3 separate regions of the Homo sapiens genome follow, and all the other regions are linked to region 3. The links are contacts of gene promoters, found by promoter capture Hi-C in human tissues and cell types (Jung and others, 2019). All regions are on one chromosome and are shown on one strand. The core of a region is centred on a gene start or on the middle of the fragment in contact, and the rest is flanking DNA. Distances in the headings are between cores, read along the strand shown. Region 1 overlaps DNAH2 (dynein axonemal heavy chain 2). Region 2 overlaps TP53 (tumor protein p53). Region 3 holds the start of ALOX15B (arachidonate 15-lipoxygenase type B).

Evidence for each region. Contacts are between HindIII fragments. The study calls those that stand out against the background at their distance.
Region 1: a contact is called between a fragment that was not itself captured here and the fragment with the promoter of ALOX15B in region 3, in 2 of the 25 tissues and cell types used here (lymphoblastoid cells and spleen).
Region 2: a fragment that was not itself captured here is called in contact with the fragment with the promoter of ALOX15B in region 3 in 1 of the 25 tissues and cell types used here (aorta).

Annotation. Positions count from the first base shown.
Region 1 is chr17:7,779,825-7,783,028 of GRCh38, forward strand. DNAH2 (dynein axonemal heavy chain 2) reads left to right here. Exons shown (of 86, transcript NM_020877.5): 37 at 333-460; 38 at 806-958; 39 at 1,218-1,343. Among named protein-coding and RNA genes, the nearest start is that of KDM6B, 53 kb to the right of the region's middle. The HindIII fragment of the contact is 3,196 bases long and covers 168-3,204 here.
Region 2 is chr17:7,672,010-7,674,895 of GRCh38, forward strand. TP53 (tumor protein p53) reads right to left here. Exons shown (of 11, transcript NM_000546.6): 6 at 2,850-2,886; 7 at 2,172-2,281; 8 at 1,692-1,828; 9 at 1,526-1,599. Among named protein-coding and RNA genes, the nearest start is that of TP53, 14 kb to the right of the region's middle. The HindIII fragment of the contact is 4,764 bases long and covers 1-2,886 here.
Region 3 is chr17:8,037,770-8,041,052 of GRCh38, forward strand. It overlaps ALOX15B (arachidonate 15-lipoxygenase type B), which reads left to right and starts at 1,290. Exons shown (of 14, transcript NM_001141.3): 1 at 1,290-1,533; 2 at 1,617-1,836; 3 at 2,133-2,214. The coding sequence starts at 1,387. The HindIII fragment of the contact is 17,440 bases long and covers 1-3,283 here.

The DNA of each region.
Region 1 (3,204 bases), core at 516-3,015, 260 kb before region 3:
AACTGAACAAAGAGGAACAGCTGTGATTTCTATTAGGACTGATGAGAGCTATACACACAGAACCTGGAGAGATGGGAAATTGACAGCTCTGTGATTTGAGTTTGAAACAAGGCCATGCAGAAAGTAAGGAAAGGACCAGAGATAAGAGAGAAGACCAAAGTGGACTGGGAAGGGCTGGGGCTGAGATGAGAAAGGATGTGGTCTTGGAGTTGGAGAGAAAGTTAGGGATGGAGTTAGGGTGGGAGAAAATGAGACTGATTGGAAAGTGGGTTTGGGGAAGCAAATCAAGATGAGGAAATATATGATTCTAAGCAAGTGGCATTGTTTTCCAGGCTATGCTGGCCGCACAGAGCTTCCCGAAAATCTTAAATCCATGTTCCGCCCAATTGCCATGGTGGTGCCTGACTCCACCCTCATTGCAGAAATCATTCTCTTTGGAGAGGGCTTTGGCAACTGCAAGGTACTCCAATAACCCCTTTTCTCCAGTGATTTTAATTTCCTTTCATAATTATTCCCTGGACAGAGGAGCTCCCCAAGGGCCTCACAATCAGCTTATCCTCTAAGGAACTTAGACTATTGTCAGTAGGATGTGTGGGGAGAAAAATTTAGGGGAGGGAGGTGTCTCCTCCGTGATATCACTAACTGACAATGGCGTCATTCACACAATTTCCTCAGGAGAATCCATAGAGTGCCTCCTAGCTGCTTCATGTCCTGGGACCTGGCTTCTTGTCTCTGACTGTCCTGAGATGAAGCAGAGGGATTTGTGGGGAGATGGACTGTTTCCTCCTCTGTTTTGGTTCCCCAGATTCTGGCCAAGAAGGTGTACACACTCTACTCACTGGCTGTGCAGCAGCTGTCCAGACAGGACCACTATGACTTTGGCCTGCGTGCCCTCACCTCCCTTCTGCGCTATGCTGGCAAGAAGCGCCGCCTACAGCCGGATCTGACTGATGAAGAGGTAGAGCAAGGACACAGCCTTTGGACCTGACTTCCACTGTCACTGGACCTATGTCACTTCTCTCAAGTCTTTCAGACCCTTTCTTTCCTCAGATTGGGATTCTCACCTTCCCACCTCGTCCCATCCCCGTGTTGCCCGCTGCTTTGCTAATGGCTAACTGGTGTATCCATTGTTCTTGGCACGTGCCCCGAAGCCCTTTGGAGGTGAAAGGCCTAGGCCCTGCCTCCTCAAGCCTGAGTCTCTGTCTTTTCCCATTCAGGTTCTGCTGCTCTCAATGAGAGATATGAACATCGCCAAGCTCACTTCAGTTGATGCACCCCTGTTCAATGCCATCGTGCAAGATCTGTTTCCCAACATTGAGCTGCCTGTCATTGACTATGGCAAGGTATTTGTTCCTTAATACTCTCCCTGACCGGGTGCTGTGGCTCATGGTTGTAATCCCAGCACTTTGGGAGGCCGAGGTGGGCAGACTGTTTGAGTCCAGGAGTTTGAGACTAGCCTGGGCAACATGGTGAAACCCTGTATCTACAAAAAGTACAAAAATTAGCCAGGCATGGTGGTGCACACGAGTGTAGTCCCAGCTACTCGGGAGGCTGAGGTAGGAGGATTGCTTGAGCCCCAGGAGATTGAGGCTATAATGAGCTGAGATTGTGCCTCTGCACTCCAGCCTGGGTGACAGAGCAAGACCGTGTCTCAAAAAACAAAACAAAAACAAAAAAACCGCACTCTCCCTGACCACATATGTGAATATGCATCTGGGAATAGAAAACTTGGCTTCCAGTCCTTGTTCTGCCATCTACTAGCTATGACTCTGAACAAGTCAATTGACCTCTCTTTGGACTTCCTTATCTATAAAGCAATAGACTATTCAAACATTCTGCTCTCTGACCACAACTCCCTCCTCCGCTGACCTACTCAAGTGTACCTGCTCAAGTGCATCCATGCAGCAACGCTCTGACTTCATTGAAACCTCTAGTCCGTTGCCTTTGCACTTTCTCCGTGCCCATCAGTCCTCCATGCCTCTACTTCTCACCTCATCAGGGAGTTTTGAGGAGGGGCTGCTAGAAGCCATTTGGTATCAGAGAGCAGCAGAATGGAAGAGGGAGTTTTAGAAAGCATAAGAACTTTCTTCTCTGGCAGTGTGGTAGTCTAGATACCCTGAATGATCCTTTCAATTGAAACTACTAAAATGATGGATAAAAATATAATAATAACATCCTTTTTAATGCATTGCTAAGCTGGCAAGAAAGGAAGAATTCCAGGAGTTGAGGAGGGTAGGGAGTAAAAGCAGGAACCCTGGGAGGCAGGTAAGTACCAAAGCTGGCCTTCTCCCTGAAAACTGTTGTTGATCTTAAGGCAGTGAGGATAGGAGATGAAACAACCCAAGTCTGAAGATATAACAGAAGATGCAGTGCTGCATAAACCCCAGTCCCCAAGGGGCAACATCCCCAGTAGATGGAAAAACGAGAAGTCTGAGATTTAGAAGCGTATATACAGGAAAGAAACTTGCTTGTTTTGACCTCTGATGATGGAAGAAAAAGACCAAATTTTCTTTGAGATTTCCTAACCACACACCAGCTCTCACATGGTTTCCAGTCATCATTTATCCTACTGTGTAATCAGAAAAGAAATCTCAAGCTTAGATTTCAATATTAAGTAGTTCTAGGTTGTTAGTGCCCCCAGGTGACTGGAAGAAGCAAAAGCAAATTATTTCTGGAGGAATGAAATTTCAACTCACACTTCAAAGAAGTGCCACAGGTAAAAGTCCAAGAAAATGAGCAACTCATGGTCAAAAATCACAAAACACACAAGGAAACAAGAAACCATGAATGGGAGCCAGAAGAACAACAGACAGTGGAATCAGATCCATGAAAACTTACTTCAGATATTGAAACTGATAGGGGCGAGGTGCGGTGGTTCACGCCTGTCATCTCAACACTTTGGAGGCTGAGGCAACAGGATCACTTTAGGCTAGGAGTTCAAGACCAGCCTGGGTAACATAGCAAGACCTCCATCTCTTAAAAAAAAAAATAGCCACACATGGAGGTGTGCTCCTGTAGTCACAACTACTTTCTCCAAAAGCTACTAGAAAAACGTGCTCTACTTAAACACAGGAACACATCGTGAAAAGGACGATGGGAAACAAAAGATTTGGTGCAAGGGGGAGGCTACAGTAATCCTCGGGGTGTTGGTGAATGGAGGTCACAGGATGATGGTGGTGCACTGGGCAAAGAGAGAAGCCAATC
Region 2 (2,886 bases), core at 387-2,886, 370 kb before region 3:
GCCCAGGGAGGTCAAGGCTGCAGTGAGCTGAGATGGTGCCACTGCACTCTAGCCTGAGTGACAGAGTGAGACTCTGTCTTTAAATAAATAAATAAAAATTAGCCGGGCGTGGTGGCTCACACCTGTAATCCCAGCACTTTGGGAGGCCGAGGCGGGCGGATCACATGGTCAGAAGTTCGAGACCAGCCTGGCCAACATGGTGAAACCCTGTCTCTACTAAAAATACAAAAATTAGCTGGGCGTGGTAGCAGGCGCTTGTAGTCCTAGCTATTCGGGAGGCTGAGGCAGGAGAATCACTTGAACCCAGGAGGCAGAGGTTGCAGTGAGCCGAGATCATGCCACTGCACTCCAGCCTGGGCGACAGAGTGAGACTGAGTCTCAAAAAAATAAAATAAAATAAAATAAAAATAAATAAATAAAAATTAGCCAGGCATGGTGGTGCAGGCCTGTAGTTGAAGCAACTTGGGAGGCTGAGCTGGGAGGATGGATGGAGCCTGGGAGGTGGAGGCTGCAGTGAGCTGTGACTGCACTACTGCACTCTATCCAGCCTGGGTGACAGAGCAAGACCTTGTCTCAAAAAAGTAGGCTAGAGACCAGCCTGGGCAACATAGTGAGACTCTATCTATCTACAAAAAATTTTAAAAATTAGCTGGGTATGGTGGTGTATGCCTGTGGTCCTAGCTACTGGGGAGGCAGAGTTAGGGGGATTGCTTGAGCCCAGGAGGGTATAATGAGCTATGATCACATCACTGTAATCCAGCCTGGGCAACAGAGCAAGATGCTGTCTCCATTAAAAATAAAATAAAAGTAGGCTAGGCAGGCCGGGTGCGGTGGCTCACGCCTGTAATCCCAGCACTTTGGGAGGCCAAGGCAGGCAGATCACAAGGTCAGGAGTTCGAGACTAGCCTGGCCAACATGGTGAAACCTCATCTCTACTAAAAAAAAAAATAAATAAATAACAAAAAATTAGCTGGGCGTCGGGGCAGGTGCCTGTAATCCCAGCTACTCAGTGGGCTGAGGCAGGAGAATCGCTTGAACCCAGAAGGCGGAGGTTGCAGTGAGCCGAGATCCCGCCACTGCACTCCAGCCTGGGTGACAGAGTGAGACTCTGTCTCCAAAAAAAAAAAAAAAAAAAGCAGGCTAGGCTAAGCTATGATGTTCCTTAGATTAGGTGTATTAAATCCATTTTCAACTTACAATATTTTCAACTTACGACGAGTTTATCAGGAAGTAACACCATCGTAAGTCAAGTAGCATCTGTATCAGGCAAAGTCATAGAACCATTTTCATGCTCTCTTTAACAATTTTCTTTTTGAAAGCTGGTCTGGTCCTTTAAAATATATATTATGGTATAAGTTGGTGTTCTGAAGTTAGTTAGCTACAACCAGGAGCCATTGTCTTTGAGGCATCACTGCCCCCTGATGGCAAATGCCCCAATTGCAGGTAAAACAGTCAAGAAGAAAACGGCATTTTGAGTGTTAGACTGGAAACTTTCCACTTGATAAGAGGTCCCAAGACTTAGTACCTGAAGGGTGAAATATTCTCCATCCAGTGGTTTCTTCTTTGGCTGGGGAGAGGAGCTGGTGTTGTTGGGCAGTGCTAGGAAAGAGGCAAGGAAAGGTGATAAAAGTGAATCTGAGGCATAACTGCACCCTTGGTCTCCTCCACCGCTTCTTGTCCTGCTTGCTTACCTCGCTTAGTGCTCCCTGGGGGCAGCTCGTGGTGAGGCTCCCCTTTCTTGCGGAGATTCTCTTCCTCTGTGCGCCGGTCTCTCCCAGGACAGGCACAAACACGCACCTCAAAGCTGTTCCGTCCCAGTAGATTACCACTACTCAGGATAGGAAAAGAGAAGCAAGAGGCAGTAAGGAAATCAGGTCCTACCTGTCCCATTTAAAAAACCAGGCTCCATCTACTCCCAACCACCCTTGTCCTTTCTGGAGCCTAAGCTCCAGCTCCAGGTAGGTGGAGGAGAAGCCACAGGTTAAGAGGTCCCAAAGCCAGAGAAAAGAAAACTGAGTGGGAGCAGTAAGGAGATTCCCCGCCGGGGATGTGATGAGAGGTGGATGGGTAGTAGTATGGAAGAAATCGGTAAGAGGTGGGCCCAGGGGTCAGAGGCAAGCAGAGGCTGGGGCACAGCAGGCCAGTGTGCAGGGTGGCAAGTGGCTCCTGACCTGGAGTCTTCCAGTGTGATGATGGTGAGGATGGGCCTCCGGTTCATGCCGCCCATGCAGGAACTGTTACACATGTAGTTGTAGTGGATGGTGGTACAGTCAGAGCCAACCTAGGAGATAACACAGGCCCAAGATGAGGCCAGTGCGCCTTGGGGAGACCTGTGGCAAGCAGGGGAGGCCTTTTTTTTTTTTTTTTGAGATGGAATCTCGCTCTGTCGCCCAGGCTGGAGTGCAGTGGCGTGATCTCAGCTCACTGCAAGCTCCACCGCCCAGGTTCACGCCATTCTCCTTCCTCAGCCTCCCGAGTAGCTGGGACTACAGGTGCCCAGCACCACGCCCGGCTAATTTTTTTTTGTATTTTTCAGTAGAGACGGGGTTTCACCGTTAGCCAGGATGGTCTCGATCTCCCAACCTCGTGATCCGCCTGCCTTGGCCTCCCAAAGTGCTGGGATTACAGGCATGAGCCACTGCGCCCAGCCAAGCAGGGGAGGCCCTTAGCCTCTGTAAGCTTCAGTTTTTTCAACTGTGCAATAGTTAAACCCATTTACTTTGCACATCTCATGGGGTTATAGGGAGGTCAAATAAGCAGCAGGAGAAAGCCCCCCTACTGCTCACCTGGAGGGCCACTGACAACCACCCTTAACCCCTCCTCCCAGAGACCCCAGTTGCAAACCAGACCTCAGGCGGCTCATAGGGCACCACCACACTATGTCGA
Region 3 (3,283 bases), core at 40-2,539:
GCCCAAATCCATAACTTCCCCTTGGCATCTCTCCCCCAAATCCCTCCCTCACTGCACTCTTGCCTTTCCCTCCTCCAACAAGCCAAGCTTTTCCTAACCACAGGGCCTCTTCAGGAACAGTTTCCTCTGCACAAAACTCTGTTCCCCAGACAGATCCTTTCACCTCCTCTGAGGCTCTGAACGCCTCCCTTCCCACCTCTGCTTCTCACTCCTTCACATTAGTCTGTTTCATTTCCTTCATTGCACTTATTATCATCTGAAATTATGTGTTGGTTTACTTATTTTCTCTCACACTTGATTTTTTTTTTTTAGACCGAGATTTGCTCTGTCGCCCATGCTGGAGTGCAATGGCACAACTTCACCTCACTGAAACCTCCGCCTTCCGGGTTCAAGCTATTCTCCTGCCTCAGCCTCCTGAGTAGCTGGGACTACAGGCGCCCGCCACCACGCTTGGCTAATTTTTTTGTATTTTTAGTAGAGATGGGGTTTCACCATGTTGGCCAGCAACTGTGCCTGGCCTCACACTTGATTTTTAATCTCCATGAGAGCAAGCACTAGGTCTTGCCTGGGCCTTTATCAATAGCAGTGAGCATAGCACCTGGCACAGAGGTAGTTCTGAACATTAATTATTGAATGAAATAAAATAATGAATGTAGGCTGGGCGCGGTGGCTCACGCCTGTAATCCCAGCACTTTGGGAGGCCGAGGCAGGCGGATCATGAGGTCAAGAGATCAAGATCATCCTGGCCTACATGGTGGAACCCCGTCTCTACTAAAATACAAAAATTAGCTGGGCATGGTGGCACTCGCCTGTTGTCTCAGCTACTGGGGAGGCTGAGGTAGGAGAATCACTTGAACCCAGGAGGAGGAGGTTCCAGTGAGCCGAGATCATGCTGCTGCACTCCAGCCTGGCGACAGAGCAAGCCTCTGTCTCAAAAATAAATAAATAAATAAATTTTAAAAATAATGAACGCAGGCCCAAGAAGAGTTGTGGGAAATGGGGTGATATTTTTGCATAGACTTCTAAGGCTAAGAAGGAAAACAAACAGACGTGGTGGGCACAAATCTACCCCCACCCCAACTGGGTCCCAACTCTAGGCTCTCTGGCCTGGCACCACCACTGAAAGGCCCCGTTCCCCAAACCTCAGGGTATTCTTAGTCCCTCCTGTTCCCAGCGCTGCCAATCCCCCGCCCACCCCCACTTTAGTTGCGTGTTCCAGCCTCTCCGCCCCGCCCCTCCCCGCCCTGAAACGGACGTGCTTTTTAGAGGAGTCCACTGGGCTTGGAGTCAGTGGCAATAACCAGGGGCAATAACCAGGCGTGTCCCAGGGGGGAGCCCCGCTCTGCAGCCCTGTGCGCCGTAGAGAGCTGGACTTAGGCTGGCAGCATGGCCGAGTTCAGGGTCAGGGTGTCCACCGGAGAAGCCTTCGGGGCTGGCACATGGGACAAAGTGTCTGTCAGCATCGTGGGGACCCGGGGAGAGAGCCCCCCACTGCCCCTGGACAATCTCGGCAAGGAGTTCACTGCGGGCGCTGTGAGTGCGTGGGAGTGGATGGGGTGGAGGTGAAGGGGGCGAGCAGGAGGGTCCGGCCTGACGCATACTTAACCTCCCCTCAGGAGGAGGACTTCCAGGTGACGCTCCCGGAGGACGTAGGCCGAGTGCTGCTGCTGCGCGTGCACAAGGCGCCCCCAGTGCTGCCCCTGCTGGGGCCCCTGGCCCCGGATGCCTGGTTCTGCCGCTGGTTCCAGCTGACACCGCCGCGGGGCGGCCACCTCCTCTTCCCCTGCTACCAGTGGCTGGAGGGGGCGGGGACCCTGGTGCTGCAGGAGGGTACAGGTGAGGGGCGGGCCGGGCTGGGGCTGCAGGGGGAGCACAGGAAGGGGTAGGGGACTGGGGGTTGGGGAGAAGGGCAGGTGAAATGGAGAGGTGAGCTGGTGTGGCCACAGAGTAGCGGGCAGAGGAGAGGGAATGGCGGAGCCTTGGGGAGCGGGAGGTAGCAGCCTGGTGTAGGAGAAACTGTACTTATGGGAGGAGGGGACCTGGTAGAGGGTGGCAATCGTGGAGACTGTGTGGCTGGTGGTAGTGATGGTGAGTTTCTCTCCCCACCCCAACCTACTCCCCTTCTCCCACAGCCAAGGTGTCCTGGGCAGACCACCACCCTGTGCTCCAGCAACAGCGCCAGGAGGAGCTTCAGGCCCGGCAGGAGATGTACCAGTGAGGAGGGGGTTACTGATGGGGGAGGGTGTGCCCAAACGATGAGGGGCAGCTTGAGTGTCCTGGTCATGACAGAGATTAAAAGCCCCTGCCTCCACCTCTCCTATCAAAGCTGCTCCTGGGATCAGCAGCGTCTACAGGAACGTATTAGAAATGCAAATTCTCAGGCCACCTCCAACCTACTACGACACTGAGGGTGTAGAGTGGGAATTTTTGTTTTGACAAGCCTTCCAGATGACTCTGGTGGCCACTGATGTTTGAAAAACACTGCTCTAGGGCCAGGTGCCGTGGTGGCTCACACCTGTAATCTCAGCACTTTGGGAGGCTGAGGGAGGCGGATCACTGGAGGTCGGGAGTTCGAGACCAGCCTGGCCAACAGGGCGAAACCCCATCTCTACTAAAAATACAAAAATCAGCTGGGTAGGGTGGCGGGCACCTGTATTCTCAGCTACATGGGAGGCTGAGGCAGAAGAATAGCTTGAACCCGGGTGGTGGAGGTTGCAGTGAGCCGATCACGCCATTGCACTCCAGCATGGGGGACAGAGCAAAACTCCATCTCAAAAAAAGAAAAAAAAAAAGGAAGGAAGGAAAAGGAAGGAAAGAGAGAAAGAAAGAGAGAGAAAGAAAGAAAGAAAGAAAGAAAGAAAGAAAGAAAGAAAGAAAGAAAGAAAAGAAAGAGAAAGAAACTGCTTTAAATGCCTTACCTTTGCTGGTGTCTTCCTTGCCCTGGGACTTTTTCATGCATCGGCTTGTTGTGTCCTCCCAGAAATCTGAGTAGAGCCAGAAACACGCCCTTCAAGCCCCAGGAAACTCACCCTCCAGGGCTAGCAAGGGGTGAGATGGGGGCTCTCTCTGTGCTCTGGGCTCAGCATTGGAGATCACAGGGGAAAACTGGGACTTGGAGATAACAGAGGAGTTGGGGCCGCTAGTGAGGATTCCCTTGGCACAAAGCCAGGAACTGCATTCAGAAACAGATTTTCAAAAGATCTTGATCCGGCCAACTCATCTGCTATCTAAAGCCTGGGCTGCAGGCTTTTGCTCCTGGTCTGTGGGATCAGAGCAGCCACAG